Regions from separate parts of the Homo sapiens genome. Here region 1 is linked to region 2. The links are contacts of gene promoters, found by promoter capture Hi-C in blood cells and fetal thymus (Javierre and others, 2016). All regions are on one chromosome and are shown on one strand. Each heading gives the region's core, a stretch centred on a gene start or on the middle of the fragment in contact. The rest is flanking DNA. Distances are from core to core; before and after follow the strand shown.

The links. The method cuts DNA at HindIII sites, captures the fragments that hold promoters and counts their contacts. A CHiCAGO score of 5 or more calls a contact.
Region 1: the fragment with the promoter of HASPIN here is called in contact with the fragment with the promoter of NCBP3 in region 2 in 1 of 17 cell types (M2 macrophages); the score reaches 6.6 in M2 macrophages.

What each region holds. Positions count from the first base shown.
Region 1 is chr17:3,721,213-3,725,240 of GRCh38, forward strand. HASPIN (histone H3 associated protein kinase) reads left to right here and starts at 2,691. Exons shown (of 1, transcript NM_031965.2): 1 at 2,691-4,028. The coding sequence starts at 2,724. ITGAE (integrin subunit alpha E) reads right to left here. Exons shown (of 31, transcript NM_002208.5): 27 at 2,476-2,532; 28 at 2,076-2,171. It also overlaps a transcript of P2RX5 not described here. RefSeq lists a silencer at 2,592-2,751 and an enhancer at 2,621-3,376. The HindIII fragment of the contact is 18,899 bases long and covers 139-4,028 here.
Region 2 is chr17:3,844,300-3,848,813 of GRCh38, forward strand. It overlaps NCBP3 (nuclear cap binding subunit 3), which reads right to left and starts at 1,947. Exons shown (of 13, transcript NM_001114118.3): 1 at 1,742-1,947. The coding sequence starts at 1,924. RefSeq lists silencers at 1,646-1,935, 2,116-2,235. The HindIII fragment of the contact is 12,990 bases long and covers 1-4,514 here.

The DNA of each region.
Region 1 (4,028 bases), core at 1,441-3,940, 120 kb before region 2:
GCCACCACACCCAGCTTATTCATTTTATTTAACGTAAGAGATTTTTCCTTTTTTTTTTTTTTTTTTTTTTTTTTTTTGAGACAAGGTCTCACTCTGTTACTCGGGCCGGAATGGAGTGGCTCAATCATAGCTCACTGAAGCTTCAAATTCCTGGGCTCAAACGATACTCCTGCCTCAGCCTCCCAAGTAGCTGGGACTACAGGCATGAGCCACCATGCGTGGCTAATTTATGTATTTATTTATTTTTAAGAAATGGGGTTTCACTATGCTGCCCAGGCTGATCTTGAACTCCTGGCCTCAAGCAATCCTCCCGCCTCAGCCTCCCAAAGTGTTGGGATGACAGATGTGAGCCACCACACTCACAATTCTTTTTTTTTAAATTATTTCTTGTATCTGTCCCTTTCTTTTCCACCCCCATTGCTACTTCTTCAGTTGAGACCTCACAAATGTCACCTGGATCACTGTAAAACATTAAACTTGATCACTTGATCACTAGTTCCCACTTTAGAATAAGTGATCAGGGAAGGCCTCTCTAAGAAAATAACACGTGTGGCCGGGTGTGGTGGCTCATGCCTGTAATCCCAGCACTTCGGGAGGCTGAGGTGGGTAGATCATCTGAGGTCAGGAGTTCAAGACCAGCCTGACCAACACGATGAAACCCCATCTCTACTAAAAATACAAAATTAGCCGGGCGTGGTGGCTCACGCCTGTAATCCCAGCACTTTGGGAGGCCAAGGAGGGCGGATCACCTGAGGTCAGGAGTTCAAGACCAGCCTCACCAACATGGAGAAACCCCATCTCTACTAAAAATACAAAATTAGCCGGGTATGGTGGCGCATACCTGTAATCCCAGCTACTTGGGAGGCTGAGGCAGGAGAATCGCTTGAACCCGGGAGGCGGAGGTTGCAGTGAGCCGAGATCGTGCCATTGCACAACAAGAGCGAAACTCCGTCTTGAAAGAAAGAAAAGAAAAGAAAAGAACACCTAGGTCGGGTGCGGTGGCTCACGCCTGTAATCCCAGCACTTTGGGAGGCTGAGGCGGGCGATCACCTGAGGTCAGGAGTTCGAGACCAGCCTGGCCAACATGGTGAAACCCCCTCTCTACTAAAAATACAAAAATTAGCTGGGCGTGGTCGCCGGCGCCTGTAATCCCAGCTACTCGGGAGGCTGAGGCAGGAGAATCACTTGAACCCGGGAGGCGGAGGTTGCAGTGAGTAGAGATCGTGCCACTGCACTCCAGCCCGGGTGACAGAGCAAGACTCCATCTAAAAAAAAAAAAAAAAAAAAGAAAAGAACACCTGAGCTAAATTTAAGAAGAAACCACCTACGTCAGGACCTAGAGGAAGAGCAGTGTCAAGCAAAGGAACAGCAAGTACAAAGTCTTGTGGCCAGAATAATGCTGTACTGGCGAGCTAGAAGAATAGGACAGAATAACCCGATTATAAAAGGGGCAGTGGGAGAGAAAGGCGAGTACTAGGAGATGAAGTTGAAGAATTAAGCAGAGACCAGATCAAGTACTGCCTTGCTCTGGCCATGAAAAAAGTATGGATTTTAGTCTAAGTGTGCTCAAGCATCAGTTTTGTTTGTTTGTTATTTTTAATAAGCAGGGGAATGGCACAATCTAATGTCTGCTCTTAGAAGACGGATAGCTGTTACGTGGGAATTATTTGTAAAGAATGTGGGAAAAGCAGAGGCAAGAAAGGCAGGCCGAAGGTTATTGCAACAGCCCTGGCAAGAAAGGGTAGCTTGAATTACAACGGCAGTGGAAATGGAGAGAAGTGAATGGGTTTAGGATATATTTTGGCCCTGAAATGGCAGGGCTTGCTGCTGGAATAGACGTGGGGATGTAGGAAAGAGGAGTCACAGGTAATCCCTCGAGTTCCTTGTACTGTAACTGGAGTATATCTCCCTCCTGAGGGTAGCTAAGGAACGGGTTGGGACAGAGGGTTGGTTTTTTGCACCAAAAGATCTATTTTGGACATGGACATGTTATGCAAAGATGCTATTATCTCTTCTAGGGGCGATGCCCGTGAGCAACTGGATAATCAAATCTGGAGCATTTCAGTCTCAAACACCTCCTCAGAGTGATCCCAGGAGATCTCTGCAGCCACGGTGACATTTTCTTTATCTGAAGCGATGACACAGCTCACTGAATGCCATTCTTCCACATGCTGGAAAAGCGAGGTCTAGTGAACACAATTCCTTTCCGTGCGGAAAGTCTGAAATCTTTTTAACACTTCGGACACAGAGCATCGTAAGGTCCCAGAATAGAGGGTGTGAGCAATTTCAGCGCTCACCTCGGCCCAAGCGAAGCTCCAGCGGGAGCAATTGAGACCCAGGGACGAAGCTAGGGAGGGCCTGGCAGCCCCCGGCACTGGCCGGCAGGGGTAACCCAGGAAAAACAGTCTCCTGGCCTCTCGTTACCCGCTTCAGGCCCTCCGCCCTCCCCTGGCCTCTCGGGACGGCCGCGCTTACCTGAACCGAACTGTACGCACAAGCGCGCTCCTGACTCCAGGTGCACACCGTGGAGGCCTGAAACGAGAGCCATGACCGCGACGCGCTGAACAAACCAAGCCGCCAGTTTTCCGTCCCGTCCCGGCCCCGGCCCTGGCGAGGTGCGCATGCGCAGGGCCGGGAGCTAGGACCCCGCGGCAGGCGGGCGCGTCCGCGTCGCACGGAAGTCTCGCGATGTTTGCGTTTGAACCTCTTGGCGGGTGCCGGCCATGGCGGCTTCGCTCCCGGGACCTGGGAGCCGGCTTTTCCGCACATATGGGGCTGCGGACGGCAGGAGACAGCGGCGGCCGGGCCGGGAAGCCGCGCAGTGGTTCCCGCCGCAGGACCGGAGGCGTTTCTTCAACAGCAGCGGCAGCAGCGACGCCAGCATCGGCGACCCCTCGCAGTCCGACGATCCTGACGATCCCGACGACCCCGACTTCCCCGGCAGCCCGGTGAGGCGGCGGCGGAGGCGTCCCGGCGGCCGAGTGCCCAAGGACCGGCCCAGCCTGACCGTGACCCCAAAGCGCTGGAAGCTGCGAGCTCGCCCAAGCCTAACCGTGACCCCAAGACGCCTGGGGCTGCGAGCTCGGCCCCCGCAGAAGTGCAGCACACCCTGCGGCCCGCTCCGACTTCCGCCCTTCCCCAGCCGCGACTCCGGCCGCCTCAGCCCGGACCTCAGCGTGTGCGGCCAGCCCAGGGACGGCGACGAGCTGGGCATCAGTGCCTCCCTGTTCAGCTCTCTGGCCTCGCCCTGCCCCGGGTCCCCAACGCCAAGGGACAGTGTCATCTCGATCGGCACCTCCGCCTGTCTGGTTGCAGCCTCAGCCGTCCCGAGCGGCCTCCACCTCCCAGAAGTCTCCCTGGACCGAGCATCTCTCCCCTGCTCCCAGGAGGAAGCGACAGGAGGAGCCAAGGACACCAGGATGGTCCACCAAACCCGCGCCAGCCTCAGGTCAGTTCTCTTTGGCCTTATGAACTCAGGAACCCCTGAGGATTCTGAGTTTCGGGCAGATGGGAAGAATATGAGAGAGTCCTGCTGTAAAAGGAAACTGGTGGTGGGAAATGGACCAGAGGGTCCAGGTCTGTCAAGCACAGGCAAGAGGAGGGCCACAGGCCAGGACTCTTGTCAAGAGAGAGGGCTTCAAGAGGCCGTCCGGAGAGAGCATCAGGAGGCCAGTGTTCCCAAGGGCCGCATTGTGCCAAGGGGAATAGACAGGCTGGAGAGAACTAGATCAAGCCGGAAGAGCAAACATCAGGAGGCAACGGAAACCTCTCTCCTCCATTCCCACCGCTTTAAAAAGGGCCAAAAGCTGGGAAAAGATTCGTTCCCCACCCAGGACCTGACTCCTTTACAGAATGTCTGCTTTTGGACCAAAACCAGGGCTTCCTTCAGTTTCCACAAGAAGAAAATTGTGACTGATGTGTCAGAGGTCTGCAGCATCTATACCACTGCCACTTCTCTCTCTGGATCCCTCCTATCAGAATGTTCAAACCGGCCTGTCATGAACAGAACAAGTGGTGCTCCGTCCTCT
Region 2 (4,514 bases), core at 697-3,196:
GTTTCCTCTGTGGTATCTACCTGCCTTCCTGACCTCTTTTACTGCCCTTCCATTAGTACTACAGAAGTTTCCAACAATCCTGGACCCATCCCAGAGCCTCTGTGCTTGTTACTGGCCCTGCTGGGGGAACTCCTTTTCAATCTTCACAAGATTGGCTTTTTGTCATTTAGAGTTTATATGGAACATAAACTCCAGGAGGGAGGTTGAGCTTGATCAAGCACCTAGGGCTGTGCCTTGGTACATAGCGGGGGATGCAATAAATACATGTTGGCCGGACGCAATGGCTCAGGCCTGTAATCCCAGCACTTTGGGAGGCAGAGGCGGGCGGATCACCTGAGGTCAGGTGTTCGAGACCAGCCTGGCCAACATGGAGAAACCCCGTCTCTACTAAAAATACAAAATTAGCCGGGCACGGTGGCACATCCCTGTAATCTCAACTACTTGGGAGGCTGAGGCAGAAGAGTAGCTTGAACCCAGGAGGCGGAGGTTGCGGTGAGCCAAGATCAGGCCATTGTACTTGGCTACTCAGGAGGCTGAGGCAGGAGAATGGCTTGAACCCGGGAGGCGGAAGTTGCGGTGAGCCGAGATCGCGCCATTGCGTTCCAGCCTGGGCAACAAGAGCGAACTCCGTCTCAAAACAAAACAAAACAAAAACCATGTTGAACTGAATGACTAAAGGGATGATAACACCTGCTTCACAACTGCAGTAATATTTATTTATTTTGGTTTTGTTTTTGAGATGGGGAGAGGGGAAAGGGGGGACCTCAAAGGGGTCTTGCTATATTGCTGAGGCTGGTCTGGAACTTAGACTCCTGAATAGCTGGCACTAAAGGCGTGCACGGCCAGTATATTTAAGTGACACAATATAGTGAATGGTAAATGCTACTATATTAGCTGTTGTTAATCATAATTATAACGTTTGCCATCTCTAGCGATCATACTTTAACCTTTCTCCATAACTTCAGTCTAAATATGTTGACATGTGGTCAAAAGTAATTCATGTTAGGTGAGAAATTAAGAGGAGTCATCCAGGCCTGAAACCAGCTCTGAGAACTGGATATACAGCCACCAAGTCACAAGCAAAACACCTCTCACCATCCCCAGCGCGGTAAAGGAGGGACCAAGGATGTCTATTGGTCGTCTGCTAGTTTGCTTTCATTAAGAGTCAGATGCTGGGGCCACGGTGTAGGTGTCACTGGAGCTGCGGGGGGGGCAAGATGACCCCGAAGTCACGACAGAAACAGTGAGTTTCTGCTGCTGACAAGTGCAGCCCTCTCAAGACAAAGAGCGAGTGCCATGTTTCCCAGATACAAATTCCTCCGGGGCAAGACCCACAAGGAGACCTGGTTGCTGGCGCCACCCAACAGCTCCTTCTGGGCTGCCCCTGGTTCTGTTCCCGCCCAGGGCTCCCCCTTTATCTCATCCTTCCAGCCCCTCCTCACTCACCTCCTTGCACAGCGCGGCTCAGAGGGGGCAGCGGAGGGGGGTCCTCAACTCCCTCCCAGCTCTCCGCCACCACCCCCCAGCCCCCTCAACACCCATTTCCGGCGCCCCGGCGTCCTTTCTCCCGCTCCGCGTCCCTCCTCCAGCCCGGCGTTCCCGTTCCCAGGACGCTGGCTCCCTCCTCTCCCGCTCCCTTGACTTCCCCGGCTGGGGCTCCGGCCACCGCCCCTTCCGGCCCCCTCCGGCGCTAGACACTAGCCCCGCGACCTCTTCCTTACCCCCCGACCCCCGCCCGTACCGGGATCAGTTCCTTGAGCGAGCGCCGCACAGGCACGATTTCCAGCTCGCCCTCCTCCACCTCCATGGGCTCCGGCTCGCCACGGTCAACACCGGACTCCGCCTCAGGGGACGGGAGCCCCAGGGCCGGCCCCGCCGGGGCCTCCGCCTTCACCGACACCCGCAGGCCCCGTACGGCCGCCATCGCTGCCTGCCGGCCGCACCACTGAGAGCCCGCCCCTCACGGCCGCCGGCTAGAGCGCCGCTGCCACTGGCCACAGAGGAGCCGCCGCAGCTACCTAGAGCGTCGCCGGCTTCGGCCCAGAAGGCCGCCCTTAGCGCCGCCGCCCCCTGGTGGCGGGAGAAAACCGGGCCGGCTGCGCGGGCGGGACCTGGGGAGGAGAAGGCGGGACTGAGCGGGGACGGGGGCGGGGCCTGCGGGAACTACGGAGCTTGGAGGAGACCGGGGTAGTCAAGGGTTACAATGTAGCTACGCCTTGAGGCTAAAGCTGTACTAAAAGCCAACTTTCCTGAGTGATCACTATGGGCCAGACACTTCCAAGCGCTCGAACCCTTAGAACAACTCTATGAAGTAGATCCTATTTTGACCCCCATTTCATATATGAGGAAACTGAGGCATAGAAATTGACCCAAGGTGACGCCATTTAAGGGATAAAAGCTGGATCTAAGTCTTCCAGAGTTTACAATGAGCCTTGATATATCACCTCTGGACAATCTGTAGGTTTATAAAGTTACTTGCCTTGCCAGTCTTTGTCTCTTAAAAGTCTCCCCAAAATTGGCCCATGTTACATACACAAAAATTGAGACTCCAAGAGGGAGAGACCTGCCCAAAGGCCAGAACTTGGACGCCGATTTCCTGACTCCTGAGGGTGCCATCCACTGTAGACCTGTGAGCATAGTTTCCGGCGGATATTTCTAACGAGAGCCTGGTGGGGGAGAGGGGTTGTCTACGCGTCCCGAGGGTGTCACTGATCAGCTGCTGTTCTGAGTCCTGATTTTCTTTTTCTTTCTTTCTTTCTTTCTTTATTCCTTTCTTCCTTCCTTTCTTTCTTCTTTTCTTTCTTTCTCTTTTCCTTCCTTCCTCCCTCTCCTCTTTCTTTCTTTCTTTCTTTTTTTTTTTTTTTTTTGTAGAGACAGGGTTTCACCATGTTGACTAAGCTGGTCTCGAATTCCTAACCTCAAGCGATCCACCCGCCTCGGCCTCCCAAAGTCTTGGGATTACAGGCATGAGCCACCGCGCCCGGCCTGAGTCCTGATTTTGCATCTTCCTCCCTGGGTAACCTTGGACAGGTTTTTGGGTCTGTTTTCCCATCTGAGGAGGGCATAGGTGAGACCCTACAGTCTCTGAGGCCCTGAGGCCCTACCAGCTCTGACCATGGAGGAGCAAATAATGATAAACCAAGGAAGAGCATGGTCAGCATCAGACACACCTGGGTTTCGAGCTGGCTGGCCGGGCCCCATCCACCATGTGTGACCTTAGGCAAGCTGCTTAGCACTTTGGAGTCTCAGTTCCTTCATCAGTAAAATGGACCATTACCTACCTACAAAGGAGGTTGTGAGGGTTAAATGTGATAATTTATATGTAGATACAGGGTCCAACAGAAGGGGTGCAGTACATCACAGTTTTTCTTAAATTTGGGCTAAACCACAGGATAAACACAAGACAGAGCTCTTTAGAGGACTAGTTTTATTTGATGAATGGGACACAAAGTACTTTTAAAAATTGGGTTGAGGCCGGGCACGGTGGCTCATGCCTGTAATCCCAACACTTTGGGAGGCCAAGGCGGGCAGATCATGAGGTCAGGAGATCGAGATCATCCTGGCTAACATGGTGAAACCGTGTCTCTACTAAAAAAAAAAAATTAGCCGGGCATGGTGGCATGCACTACTTGGGAGGCTGAGGCAGGAGAATCACTTGAACCCGGGAGGTGGAGGTTGCAGTGAGCCGAGATCATACCACTGCACTCCAGCCTGGGCGACAGAGCGAGACTCCGTCTCCAAAAAAAAAAAAAAAAAATGGGTTGAATGCATACATAGAATATGTACGGGTGTGTGTGTGTGTGTGTGTTTAATTTCAAACAAAATGTGTAGTTGGGGTGGCCAGCTATAGGTAAGAGTCACAGCCCCCACCATTACTAGGCCTGTGGGGTTAGGGGATGGGAGAGGAGGAAGTAATCCCTCCTCAGCTATGGACACCAGGAGGCCAGTAGAGAAGGCTGGGCAGGCCCCTCACCCTGCTGGGGAGGATGCCTTGTTGCTTGAGGACGCAATTCGGTGAGGATTCAGTGTTGCAGTTCAGTGCCATCCAGAAGAGCCCCAGCACCCTGGCACACCAGCCGGCAGGTACATGAGGAGTCCAGGACAAGCCGGGACATCAGGCAAACACCAAGGCTCCTAGGCGCGTGTCAGGAAAGCCCTCTGTGCCTTGCTCTTTGTGGTCACCTTAGTCACCATCTCCCATCCCCTTTCCTGTTCGCGATGCAGCCTGCTGAGTTGGAGACACAGAGAATTTAGGAAGGTGGTAAGGGCTGATTTTCAAAAAGTTGAAAAACATGACTCTCAAACAGATGTAAAATGAACACATGTCAAAGCTGTTACCCAGTCATTAGAAAATGAGGAAACCAGTAGAAATATGAAGAATAGTTTGAAGGGGAACTTGAATGAATATGTGGTTGGTCAGTCAAAGGAATGCTGAGATGAATTTGACAAGGCAAGTTAATGTCCTGTAAGGCAAGAAACGATAACCTCCAGGACTCCCTTTACCACCAGACAGA